2 separate regions of the Homo sapiens genome follow, and region 2 is linked to region 1. Evidence: promoter capture Hi-C in 16 types of primary human blood cells and fetal thymus (Javierre and others, 2016). All regions are on one chromosome and are shown on one strand. The core of a region is centred on a gene start or on the middle of the fragment in contact, and the rest is flanking DNA. Distances in the headings are between cores, read along the strand shown. Region 1 holds the start of CNKSR1 (connector enhancer of kinase suppressor of Ras 1). Region 2 holds the start of SLC30A2 (solute carrier family 30 member 2).

Region 1 (5,905 bases), core at 3,150-5,649:
GGGCACATCCTTCTTTCACTTAACCTATTACCTTTGAAATGTATACAGCAAATATGTAGAACTTTATATTCATAAAGCTTTTTAAAATAGGCTGGGCATGGTGGCTCACACCTGTAATCCCAGCACTTTGGGAGGCCAAGGTAGGTGAATCACTTGAGGTCAGGAGTCCGAGACCAGCCTGGCCAACATGGCAAAACCCTGTCTCTACTAAAAATAAAAAAATTAGCTGGGTGTGGTGGCGCACACCTGTAATCCCAGCTACTTGGGAGATTGAGGCACGAGAATCACTTGAACCTGGGAGGGAGAGGTTGCAGTGAGCCAAGACTGCGCCACTGCACTCCAACCTGGGCAGCGGAGCAAGACTCTCTCAAAAAACAAAATGAAACCCTTTAAAATAGAAGTTGTCAGCCGGGCGTGGTGGTTTACGCCTGTAATCCCAGCACTTTGAGAGGCCGAGGCAAGGAGATCACTTGAGGTCAGGAGTTTGAGACCAGCCTGGTCAACATGGTGAAACCCCATCTCTACTAAAAATACAAAATTAGCCGAGCATGGTGGCACACGCCTGTAATCCCAGCTACTTGGGAGGCAGAGGCAGGAGAATAGCTTGAACCTGGGAGGCGGAGGTTGCAGTGAGCCAAGATCATGCCATTGCACTCCAGCCTGGGCAACAAGAGCAAAGCTCTGTCTCAAAAAAATAGATAAAAATAAATAGAAGCTGCCACTTACTGTGTTCCTAACTGCCTAACCCTGGCAGATGCTGGGAGCGTAGAGTAAAGGCGCCGTGGTTCAGGGAGAGAGGGGGCTGGTTCTCACCTCTGGTGGCAGCTCAGGAAAGATATTTGATGAAATCAAGATCTGTCTACCGAACACTGATAAAGGCTCTATTAGAATTTACTGGACTTCCCCAGAGTGCCACAGGGAGGCTGCTGCATGAAGAGGCAAAAATGTTAAACGAGGATGCAGCACGGAGTGTTCAAGGGACACAGACCTGAGGCAAAAGACAAAGCTGGAGACGGGCATTTTGCAAATTTGAAGCCAACTGGCTCACAAAATGAAAGAGGCTGTTAATACCAAGTGTGAAGGTGGGATGGCATCACCAGAGCTGGCCAAGTTCAGAGAAGCTGGAAATCTCAATTTGGATGTGACGTTATTAAATGATGACAACACACGTACACTACATGGGCCAACCATGGGCGAAATTCAGACTTTGGGTCTCTGGGTTACAGGTAAGGTCGTGACAGGCTTTGATGACTGGGGGTGCTGCAGAAATTCTGAAGTAGGTGACAACAGGTAGCTCCTCCCCACAGAATTAAAGCAATAATAACTCATATCTACCCCATGATACAGATTTCAAAGTACTTAATGTCATCACAGTGCTAAGGCCTAGGAATCCCCTTCTGGAGACAAAGAAACAGATTCAGAGAGCTGTAGAAGTTGGGCTGAGTCACATAGCAGTTGAGTATGGAACTGATTTTATCTGATTTTTTTTTTTTTTGAGACAGAGTTTTGCTCTTGTTGCCCAGGTTGGAGTGCAGTGGCGCAATCTCGGCTCACTGCAACCTCTGCTTCCGGGTTCAAGCAATTCTCCTGTCTCAGCCTTCCGAGTTGCTGGGATTATAGGCGCCCGCCACCACGACCGGCTAATTTTTTGGATTTTTAGTACAGACAGGGCTTCTCTATGTTGGCCAGGCTGATCTCGAACTCCTGACCTCAGATGATCCACCCGCCTTGGCCTCCCAAAGTGCTGGGATTACAGGCATGAGCCACCGCGCCCGGCCTTTTTTTTTTTGAGGTGGAGTTTCACTTTTGTTGCCCAGGCTGGAGTGCAATGACGCGATCTCAGCTCACCGCTACCTCTACCTCATGAGTTCAAGCAATTCTCCTGCCTCAGCCTCCCGAGTACCTGGGATTACAGGCATGTGCCACCACACCCGGCTAATTTTGTATTTTTAGTAGAGATGGGGTTGCTCCATGTTGGTCAGGCTGGTCTCGAACTCCTGACCTCAGGTGATCCGCCCGCATAGGTCTCCTGAAGTGCTGGGATTACAGGCCTGAGCCACCACGCCCGGCTGATTTTATCTGATTCTAAAGTCCTGGGAGTCCCCTGACCTGATGATGATGATGAAAATGAACATTTACTATGTGTCAGATATTTTTCTAAGATTAAAGCTCTTGCTCTGAGGTTCAGAATTCAGGGGATCCATAAACTTGGATGGGAAAAAATTATATTTTTATTTTTGCTAAACTCTAACCAAAATTTATGATTTCCTTCTATATGGATTGAAGCAGTAGCAGTATCTTTGGCTTAGTCACCAATAGAAATCACATATTTTCATATCAAATTGTAGTTATTGCAAGTATCTCAAAATATTTATGCTCAAGTGATTTCAAAATCACAGTGGTTGTTAAACCACCACTAAATTGTTCGTGAGCAACTTCTGTTTCAGATGCTCCTGTGATGTAGCCGCCATTAATTGGTTACCTCCAGGCTTAGCAGTGGTTCAGTGACCAAAGGGCGAATCTGCCTGTTCTGAGTAGGGCTTCTCCACTCTTCTGCATTCCCTGTCTTTTTTTTTTTTTTTTTGAGACGAAGTCTTGCTCTGTCGCCCAGGCTAGAGTGCAGTGGCGCGAACTCGGCTCACTGCAAGCTCTGCCTCCTGGGTTCACGCCATTCTCCTGCCTCAGCCTCCTGAGTAGCTGGGACTACAGGCGCCCGCCACCATGCCTGGCTAATTTTTTGTATTTTTAGTAGAGACGGGGTTTCACCATGTTAGCCAGGATGGTCTCGATCTCCTGACCTCATAATCCGCCCGTCTCGATTATAGGCGTGAGCCACCATGCCCGGCCCAGCATTCCCTGTTTTTAGTTGTTTGCTGATCAATATGTAAGAGGAGGGGCGTCAAAGACCACCCCACAGTTTAATGTCCTTATTCAAGCTGGTCGACAACACACTGAGGTCATTAAAAAAGAAAAATTTAACTTTCGGCCAGTCTTATTAATGTTAGTAAACACATAATATAAATTTCTGGTTTTATTTTTTTGAGATGGGCTCCTGCTATGTTGCCCAGGGTGGCTTTGACTCCTGGGCTTGAGTGATACTCCCCCGCTCAACCTCTCAACCTCTCGAGTAGCTGGGACTACAGTCGTGTGCCAGCACTCCCCAGCTCCAAATTTTTTTTTTGTTTTTTGTGGGTTTTTTTTTTGAGACGGAGTCTTGCTTTGTTGCCAGGCTGGAGTGCAGAGGCGTGATCTCAGCTCACTGCAACCTCCGCCTCCCAGGTTCAAGCGATTCTCCTGCCTCAGCCTCCTGAGTAGCTGTGACTACAGGCGTGCACCACCACACCCAGCTAATTTTTGTATTTTTAGTAGAGACGGGGTTTCACCATGTTGGGCAGGCTGGTTTCCATCTCTTAACCTCATGATCCACCCGCCTTGGCCTTCCAAAGTGCTGGAATTACAGGCGTGAACCACCATGCCCGGCCAAATTTGTTTTTAAATATAGTTTTGATAATTGTTCTCATTGTAATCCTAAGCATTTTGTTTTGTGCATTTATTTATTTATTTATAATACAGAGTTTTGCTCTGTTGCCCAGGCTGGAGTGCAGTGGCACGATCTTGGCTCACTGGAACCTCCCCCTCCTGGGTTCAAGGGATTCTCCTGCCTCAGCCTCCTGAGTAGCTGGGATTACAAGCACCCACTACGCCCAGCTAATTTTTTGTATTTTTAGTAGAGATGGTGTTTCACCATATTGGCCAGGCTGGTCTTGAACTCCTGATCTCAAGTGATCCGCCCACCTCGGCCTCCCAAAGTGCTGGGATTACAGGCGTGAGCCACCGCGCCCGGCCTGTTTTATGCCTTTATAAGCAGCTATTCTGAGAAAGCATTCACAGGCCTCACCAGATGCCAGAGTCCATACTGCAAAATCCAAGGGAGGCTAAACACCCCAGTTCTAAATGTTTTCAAGCCATTCAGATACTGTGCACAGCTGCCCTTTGAAGTACGGTCTATTATATCTCTTTTACAGACCCAGAAACTGAGGCGCAGAAGTTAGGGTCAGCCCCAGGTCACACAGCTAACAAGAGCTGGCCTAGGCACCCAGGGACCTGGCCCCCTAGCCTCTGTGCTTTGCTACTGATTTCAGCGCTCCTCTTGTGGCTTTTTCTTGAGGAGCCCAAGGGTCAGGGTCCCACCCCGCGATATGAGGCCAGTGGCACTGCCCCCTAGCAGGCGCGAGATGCCAGAGCCCTAGGATGTCTGAAGGGCCGGGCAGGAGGCGGACGGGCGTGGGCCAATGGCTGTCGCAGTGCCTCATCTTGCCGTCTGTGTGAGCCCAGGTATGCAGTAGGCTCCGCCCAGGACCCAGCCCGGCCCCTCCTTAGGCCTGGGCTCTGGGAGCGGAAATTCCGGCGACAGCAGGGCAAAACAGGAGCTGATTCGAGCTGGCAGAGCTGGGCCATGGAACCGGTAGAGACCTGGACCCCCGGAAAGGTGGCAACTTGGCTGAGAGGTGGGTGGGGCTGGGGTAGAGTTGGGCTTGAAGGGGACTAGGTGTGGTGTCCCACCGGGAAGCGGGAGGAGAGGAAAAGGAAAAAAAATCTGCGGACTGGGTGCGCTGGTTCACACCTGTAATCCCAGCACTTTGGGAAGCCAAGGTGGGTGGGTCACCTGAGGTCGGGAGTTCAAGACCAGCATGGTGAAACCCCGTCTCTACTAAAAATACAAAAATTATCTGGGGGTGGTGGCAGGTGCCTGTAATCCCAGCTACTTGGGAGGCTGAGGCAGGAGAATCGCTTGAACCCAGGAGGCAGAGGTTACAGTGAGCCGAGATTGCACCGCTGCACTCCAGTCTGGACGACAGAGCGAGATTCAGCTCAAAAGAAAAAAAAAAATAATAAACTGCGGGCTCTATCAGTCGGTCAGTCAGTCAACAAATATTTACAGAGCACCTAACATGTTCCAGGAACCGTGCTGGGCAGAGAGACAGATGAGATGACCCTGGGGGGCCCAAGGACCCAGAAGGGGGCCCCTCATCATGGCAGTAGCCCAAGAGGCCTCTAGGGTGATAATGGGGAGGCGGTGTCATGAAAACAGGAGGGAGGCCTGACAGGCCCACACCCACTGTATCTCCTTCATCTTCCCTGGCCCCAGGGCCAGTGGGCTGTTGTTAAATCCGTTTCTTAGAGTCAGAAACTGACACACAGAGCCAGGAAATGATTTGCTCAGTCTCTGGTGTCATTTTCCCCGCTCCACACCCTGAGCTCCTAGTGACAGAAGCAGAAGCCCTAGGCCAGACTGAAGAGGTTGACACAGCCCCACCCTGGGGCTCCTATCCAAGGGGCAAGGTGCTGTCCAGGCTCAGCGAGCCCACACAGATGGGAAGCAACACACCCCACAGGCAGACTCAGAGAAGGAAGGGCCTCCTGACACACAGTGCGACCAGGAGCAGGCAGTCAGGACACCCCTCCCAGAGTGGGGAGCTGGAGCGCACTAGAGACAGGCTCAGGAGGACCAGCCCGGGTAAGGGCAGGAATTCAGGGCTGGGTTCAGACTCCCAGGCTGGATTCCAGGCCCACCCCCACCGCTTGCCAGCTCTGTGACCATAGGTCTTAGTTTTTCTGTCCATCAAATGGGAAAGGCAACTCTGACCTTATGAAGTCGACAAAGTGAGACAATCATGACATAGTTCATTTGTAGCTCAATGCCTGGGTCTATTGGGAGGGCACCAGCCCAATACAGTCACCGTGCAGGAAGGAGGTGGCTCAGGGGCCCATAGCCAGGGAGTGATAGGTTCATGAACTCCCAGTCCAGTGCTCTCAATGTGACACAGGGAACACACACACACACCTCCCCCAGTGAAGGAGCCTGGCTTAGAAGGGGAAGAATTCCTTCGAAGAGTGAGCAAGC
Region 2 (5,929 bases), core at 2,505-5,004, 130 kb before region 1:
AGGTTGTTGTGAGGATCAGAAGTGCTGACACTTGGTAGGTATTGGATAAATGTTCCTTTCCTCTCCCCACCCTTTTCCCTAGAACTGGGAGGGAGCTAGAATCTGAAAAGAAACCCCGGTAGAGAGTATACTCAGGTGGTCTACACTCCCCTGCCACCCCCACCACCCTGTGTCCCAGCTCTGACCTTGAAGTATAAAATATAGGCTGCCACTAGGACACCCATGCTCTGCATAAAGTCGCCGATCACATGGATGAAGGCAGCTCGGACGCTGGGGTTCTCCTCCTGCTGGTTGGTGGTGCCGTGGCTGTGCCCATGGCCAGACTGGTGAAGGGTCAACCCCATTCTATGGAAGTGGAGACAAAGCCAAGGGCTCACTGAGGTCGCAGATGGAGGTCACCTATTAGGACTAGCCAACTTGTAGGGCAAAAATCTCAAGCCCCTAAACCTTGTGATCTCTTTGGCCATGTGAGAAGTCCAACCCACGTGGCCTTGGTTCAGACAGCCATGAGAGATAGGGCCCAGCGCCAATGCCAGGCTGAGCCTGGGCACAACAATGCCACAGTGTCAAATCTCAGAGCAGGAGGGCATTAGGGAGGTCACTGTCAGTTCACTCCATCATGTCACAGATGGGGAAACTGAGGCCTCTGAACAAAGACCCCGAAAGAGACACCCATTGTCTCTAACTGAGACCAATTTCAGACTTGGGTTCTGCCCCTAGGGACAGCTACTCCTGCAACAACTGGCCTCTTCCCGCCCCACTTCAGGTATGAAGCCACCAAGGCTAGTCCCTGACATGTATCAGGGAGTGGGTAGAGTGGATGAAGACTCCGATTTACAGCTCCCAGTGTTCTTGGCCTAGGCCTAAGGTAGGACCCAGGTGTTCCAGGTGCCAGAGCTCAGACCATTAGGGAAGTTCTGTCCCTGTAGCGTATGCTGGAAAGTGGCACAGTCTCTTTCCGCAAAGCAGACATAGGTGTGGGTGTGAGAGGCGGGAGGAGGAGGGGAGACGAGGGAAACTGGGGCCCCACTCACATGATGTTCACAGCCACAGCGCAGCCCGACGTGATCAGCATGGTCCCCCCGTCAATTTCATAGTCCCCAGAGATCAGCCGCTCCACAGCCAGGTACACCAGTACCCCCGTCACGACCCAGATGGACAGTACAGAGACCAGGGCTCCCAAGATCTCTGAGGAAGAACCCAACCCCAACACCCACCTTGGCATGGGCCTGGAGCTAAGGAGTCTTCCCCCTTCCTTCAGGATCCTCCCCACCCACCTCCCACACAAAGTCAGGGCCTGGGTCCCACTGGGCTCTGCTGAAGGTATGGCCGGTATGGCTGCCCCTTACCCCACCCCTCATATATCTAGGAATGTAAGAGCTAGAAGGAACTAATAAGTCATCATCTGAGTCCACCTTTTTGGTTGTACATGTAAAGAAGCTGACTTATTAAAGTATGTGCCTTTTGTTCAGCTAGTAAACTGAGGCTTCTGGGGAAGACAGGCTGGGCCATCTCCCACAAAGAGGAAGGTGACGATGCAGTCCAGGGTGAACGGAAGAGAGGTTAAAGCCTATATCTTCCAGCAGCCTTTGCTGGCCTTCCCCTCCCCCCAGAGCTGATCCACAGAGTTATGTGCAGTGTTAATGCCATTGTCATTTGTTCTTGAAGCTTGGCTACTGCACTTCTTAGGAAGGTCAACTTTGCTTCCCTGCAGACTGAGAGCTCCTGGATGACTGGGACCAGGGCTCCCCCATCAGACTAGGATTTCCCAGAGGACAGAGGCCATGGTTGACATCCTCTTCCCCCATCCAGATCACCCTCCTGGCCTCACTCAGGGGAGGAAGGGGGGATCCACCCATTACAGCCACCTAAGAACCCCTGTTCTAACCCACCCTCTCTCTCAACCCCATCTCCAGCCAAACCGCGATCCTCACCAGCTCTCTGCCAGCCAAAGTTCATGGTCTTGGTGGCTGGCCGGGAGGACATCCAGAGGGAGAAGAGGCTGATGAGCATGCTGGCAAAGTCAGTGAGCAGGTGTGCTGCGTCAGTCATGACAGCCAAGCTGTGTGCCAGGTACCCACCTGCAGGGTGGAGGGTCCTTATCAGCTCCCCCAGAGAGCTGGCTCCCAAGACTGTGTGTGCAGCAGGGAGACCACAGGCTCTGGAAGAGGACATTCTGGGCTCAAGATCTCTCTACCCATGAGCTGTACCACCGTGACAAGTGACCTACTCTCTCTGAGCCTCAACTTCCACTCTCTGTGAAATGGGCCACCAATATCTACTTAGAGGGTGAATGTGCACATCAAGTTCAAATAGGGACTGGAAAACATAGCAGATACTCAGTAAATGCTCTTCCCTTCTAGGAATTCAGGCCTTCCCTTAGCTACGAGTTGTGCGTGATCTTTGGCAAGTTACTTCACCTGAACATGCCTCAGTTTCATCATCTGTAAAGTAAGGAGAATAACGTCACCCATGTGAGAACACAGGTTGTTGTTAGACCTGCATCAGATAATGTGTATATAAAGGCTTACTGTAGTGTGTGTTCAGTAATTGGGGCTTTTAGTGTCAGTATTGCTGGGAACATCCAGTCTATCCATGCACCAACTTCATTTAATTAGCCCAAAAGTGCTTACCAACGACTTCTCCGATCATGAACAACAGGCAGATGGCAGAGGCTACATACAGCTGGCGCTGGGCCTTCCCCTTCTTGGGGTCACAGTGACTGTCAGGACCCTTCTGAGCATGGCAGTGATGGTTGCTCTGGGCAGCCAGCTCAATGGCCTGCAAGTCCAGGCCAGGTCGGGGCAGAGGAATCCAGCCAGCCCCTTCCTGCCACAGAGATCCCGTGTATGACCTGGCCAGAGGGGAAGAGAGGGAACGCTCAGCTCTGAGATGAGGTAAGGAGGGCCGACTCTAGTCCCATTTCTCTGTGAGGCCTTGTGTCCACTGGGAAAAATAGCTAAGGACGCTCCGAGCTCGACAAACCAGAGGTGAGAAGCCTGTATTCAGACGGGGATGATAGGGGAATGGGAGTCCTGGGGCCCGGGGCCCTTCAGAGGCCAGAGGAGGTGAAGACCCTGGGAACCGGCCAAGGGGCGTGCTGTCCAGTGGAGCGCGGGGAAGGAACAGAGCGCAGGCTCTGGGAGAACAGCAGGCCCCCTCCAGCGCACTTGGGACACAGGGCCTCCCCGGGGCGGGGCTGCCTGGGGCAAAGTGCTGGGCGGGGCGGGACTCCAGGCATGGGAACCGCCAATCCCCCGGCCCCAGGCCCCCCGCGGGCAGGGGTCAGAATCTGGGCTGCGCCCCAAGGGAGAGACGGTCCTTGGGCCACAGCCCATTATCTTCGTTCCCTCACCTCACCCCACCCCTCCTGCATGGTCCCAGCTCAAGCCGCAGCCAAAACCAACCACTGCTAGGATGGCAAATGCGGAGGTGCGTCGGCTGCCGCCAAAATTCCCGCCCGTCCCCAGGCTCTCGCCTTACCGGATTGCCGGCCTGGCGTCCAACAGATGCTGCTTCTCCTTGGCCTCCATGCAGTCCCGCGCCGAGTCCCGGCAGCCGCGCAGCCGCCCCGCCGAGTGCGCCCTGAAAGTTGCGCGCGGGACTCCGGGTGGCGCTCACCCACCTGCCCCGAGGGCCCCGCGAGGTGCGCTCACTCCGGCCCGGCTCCTGCGGCCCCTGAGCTCCCCCGGCTCCCGCTGCGGCTGCAGCTCCGGCTCTGGCTCCGCGTGCCAAGCGCTCCCGTGTCTCGGGTCAGCCGCTGCGCCCCGCGGCCGCCGGCTTTATCCGGCCCTCGCCAACCCGTGTGAAGCTGCCGTCGGCGCGTCGTGTGCAAAAGCCCGCGGGGAAGGGGGGGCGGTCGCCGGCTGCAAAAGGCCCGGCTGTGGCCCCGCACACCTGTGCCTGCGCCCATGGGGCCCGCGGAGCCCACCTGCCGGCCGCGAGAAGTTTGCCAGCCTTCGCCCGGCGCGGCGCCGGGTGTTGCTGAGTGAGGACGGGGTGACGCCTGCGCCCCCTCTCCCGCGCGGGGTGCGCCGCCTCGCCGCCGAAAAGTTCTCGACTTTAGTTTGTAGAAATCCGCTTTGGTGGTCCCGACGGCAGGAATGTGGCTCCTTGCCTCGGAAGAGGGTCTCCAGAGGCTACTGGGGCCGCGTCTGCCCCCTCCGACTGGCGGCTGCCCTGGGCTTGATCATGTTCCCCTCTCAGGCCGGAGACCCCCCGAGGTCGGCTTGCGTTCCTGTCCTCCTGCTAGGAGGGTCCTGGGGTGGGGTGGGCTGCGCCGCCCTCAGGCTGGGGCAGTGTCTCTCCCTAGGACCGGCTGGGACTGATCGACCCATCCTCGCCACTGAAGCAGCGCCAGCTCCTCCTCTCCTGCGCGCAGGAGAATCTGGAGTGGCCGGCTTTGTCTCCACCCGCACAGAGAACAGTGTCATCGGCAGTCACCATCGGAGCAGAGACGACCACTGCCACTGCTGCCACCCCTTCTCCCCTCCCCCGCAGCGGCTCCTGGGAGCCCCAGGAAGCCTGACAAGCAAGCCTGGGAGATGCAGGCCGGAGGTGCCACCGTGTTGGTACCGCTGGGAGAAGCCCTGTCCTTCCTGGCCAGCTTGGTGCCCCACCCACTTGAAGCAGCCTCCTTCCCTGGCGGTTCTTGGGGATTGGGGAGCCTGTGGCCCCCACGCTGGCCTCTGACAGGTGCCCTCTGTGTAGAAAGAAGCTGCTGGAGACCTCCCTGTCTGGTCAATTCGTCTCCCCAGCACCCTTTGTCGCTAGGACCATAGGCTTGGTGGGTATGGCCTTTCACAGAGCCAAGAGTCAGAGGTGCAGGCCTCTTGCCCACACCACTGGGGACAGGAAGGGGCTCTTTCAGTCTCTCATCTTGTAGGAGACGGGGTGCCAGGAGTGAGGATGTGAGGTGCACCCGCTCTGCTTGGGTCCTCACTGAGTGCCTCTCTGCTTCTCTGGACTCTGGTTTTCTTCTGGAAAACCTCAGACACCCTGGTTTTCTCCAGGTCTGTCTACTCTGAGCACCAGCAGGCTCAGCATTACCTGGAGAAGGTGTTACAACGCAGGTTACAGGTCCCTGCATCAGACCAACCGAACCAGAATCTCTGGGTGTGGAGCCTGAATATTTCCAGGATTCAGTAGGTCTGGGGCAGGGCCTGGGAATCTGTATTTATAAAATTCTCTGGTGCTATTGTGGCATCATTGTTCATTTTTATGTATAGTGGTTTTTTTGTTTGTTTGTTTTTGAGACAGAGTTTCATTTCTGTCTCTGTCGCCCAGGCTCGACTGCAATCTCAGCTCACTGCAATCTCTGCTTCCCGGATTCAAGTGATTCTCCTGCCTCAGCTTCCTGAGTAGCTGGGATTACAGGTGCCCACGACCATGCCAAGCTAATTTTTGTATTTTTAGTACAGACAGGGTTTCACCATGTTGGCCAGGCTGGTCCTGAGGTTATGATTTTTTTCAAAGAACACCTTTATCTAAAGTATTTAGGGATAAAATGTCATCTGGGTTTTGCCTTAAAATAATCCCAGTGGGGAGAGTACGGTACTGGTATAGAAGAAATAAATATGTCACCAGCTGTTGAAACTGAGTGATGGGTAAATGGGGTACACTATAACTATTCCCTCTACTTTTCAGTATTTAAAAAATGTTGGCTGGGTGCGGCGGCTCACGCCTATAATCCCAGCACTTTGGGAGGCTGAGGCAGGCGGATCACCTGAGGTCAAGAGTTCGAGACCAGCCTGGTCAACATGGCAAAACCTCGTCTCTACTAAAAATAAGAAAATTAGCCAGGCATGGTGGCAGGCGCCTGTAATCCCAGCTACTCAGAATTCTGAGGCAGGAGAATCACTTGAACCCGGGAGGTAGAGGTTGCAGTGAGCCGAGATCATGCCATTGCACTCCAGCGTGGGCAATCAAG

The links. Contacts are between HindIII fragments. The CHiCAGO score rates a contact against its expected background, and 5 or more counts as called.
Region 2: the fragment with the promoter of SLC30A2 here is called in contact with the fragment with the promoter of CNKSR1 in region 1 in 6 of 17 cell types (M2 macrophages, M1 macrophages, erythroblasts and 3 more); the score reaches 9.3 in M2 macrophages.

What each region holds. Positions count from the first base shown.
Region 1 is chr1:26,173,092-26,178,996 of GRCh38, forward strand. CNKSR1 (connector enhancer of kinase suppressor of Ras 1) reads left to right here and starts at 4,400. Exons shown (of 21, transcript NM_006314.3): 1 at 4,400-4,508. The coding sequence starts at 4,457. The HindIII fragment of the contact is 21,071 bases long and covers 76-5,905 here.
Region 2 is chr1:26,042,364-26,048,292 of GRCh38, forward strand. It overlaps SLC30A2 (solute carrier family 30 member 2), which reads right to left and starts at 3,755. Exons shown (of 8, transcript NM_001004434.3): 1 at 3,484-3,755; 2 at 2,634-2,854; 3 at 1,935-2,081; 4 at 1,035-1,188; 5 at 186-345. The coding sequence starts at 3,533. It overlaps LOC105376910 (a long non-coding RNA gene), which reads left to right and starts at 5,895. Exons shown (of 2, transcript XR_001737948.2): 1 at 5,895-5,929. RefSeq lists an enhancer at 2,786-3,354. The HindIII fragment of the contact is 10,541 bases long and covers 1,667-5,929 here.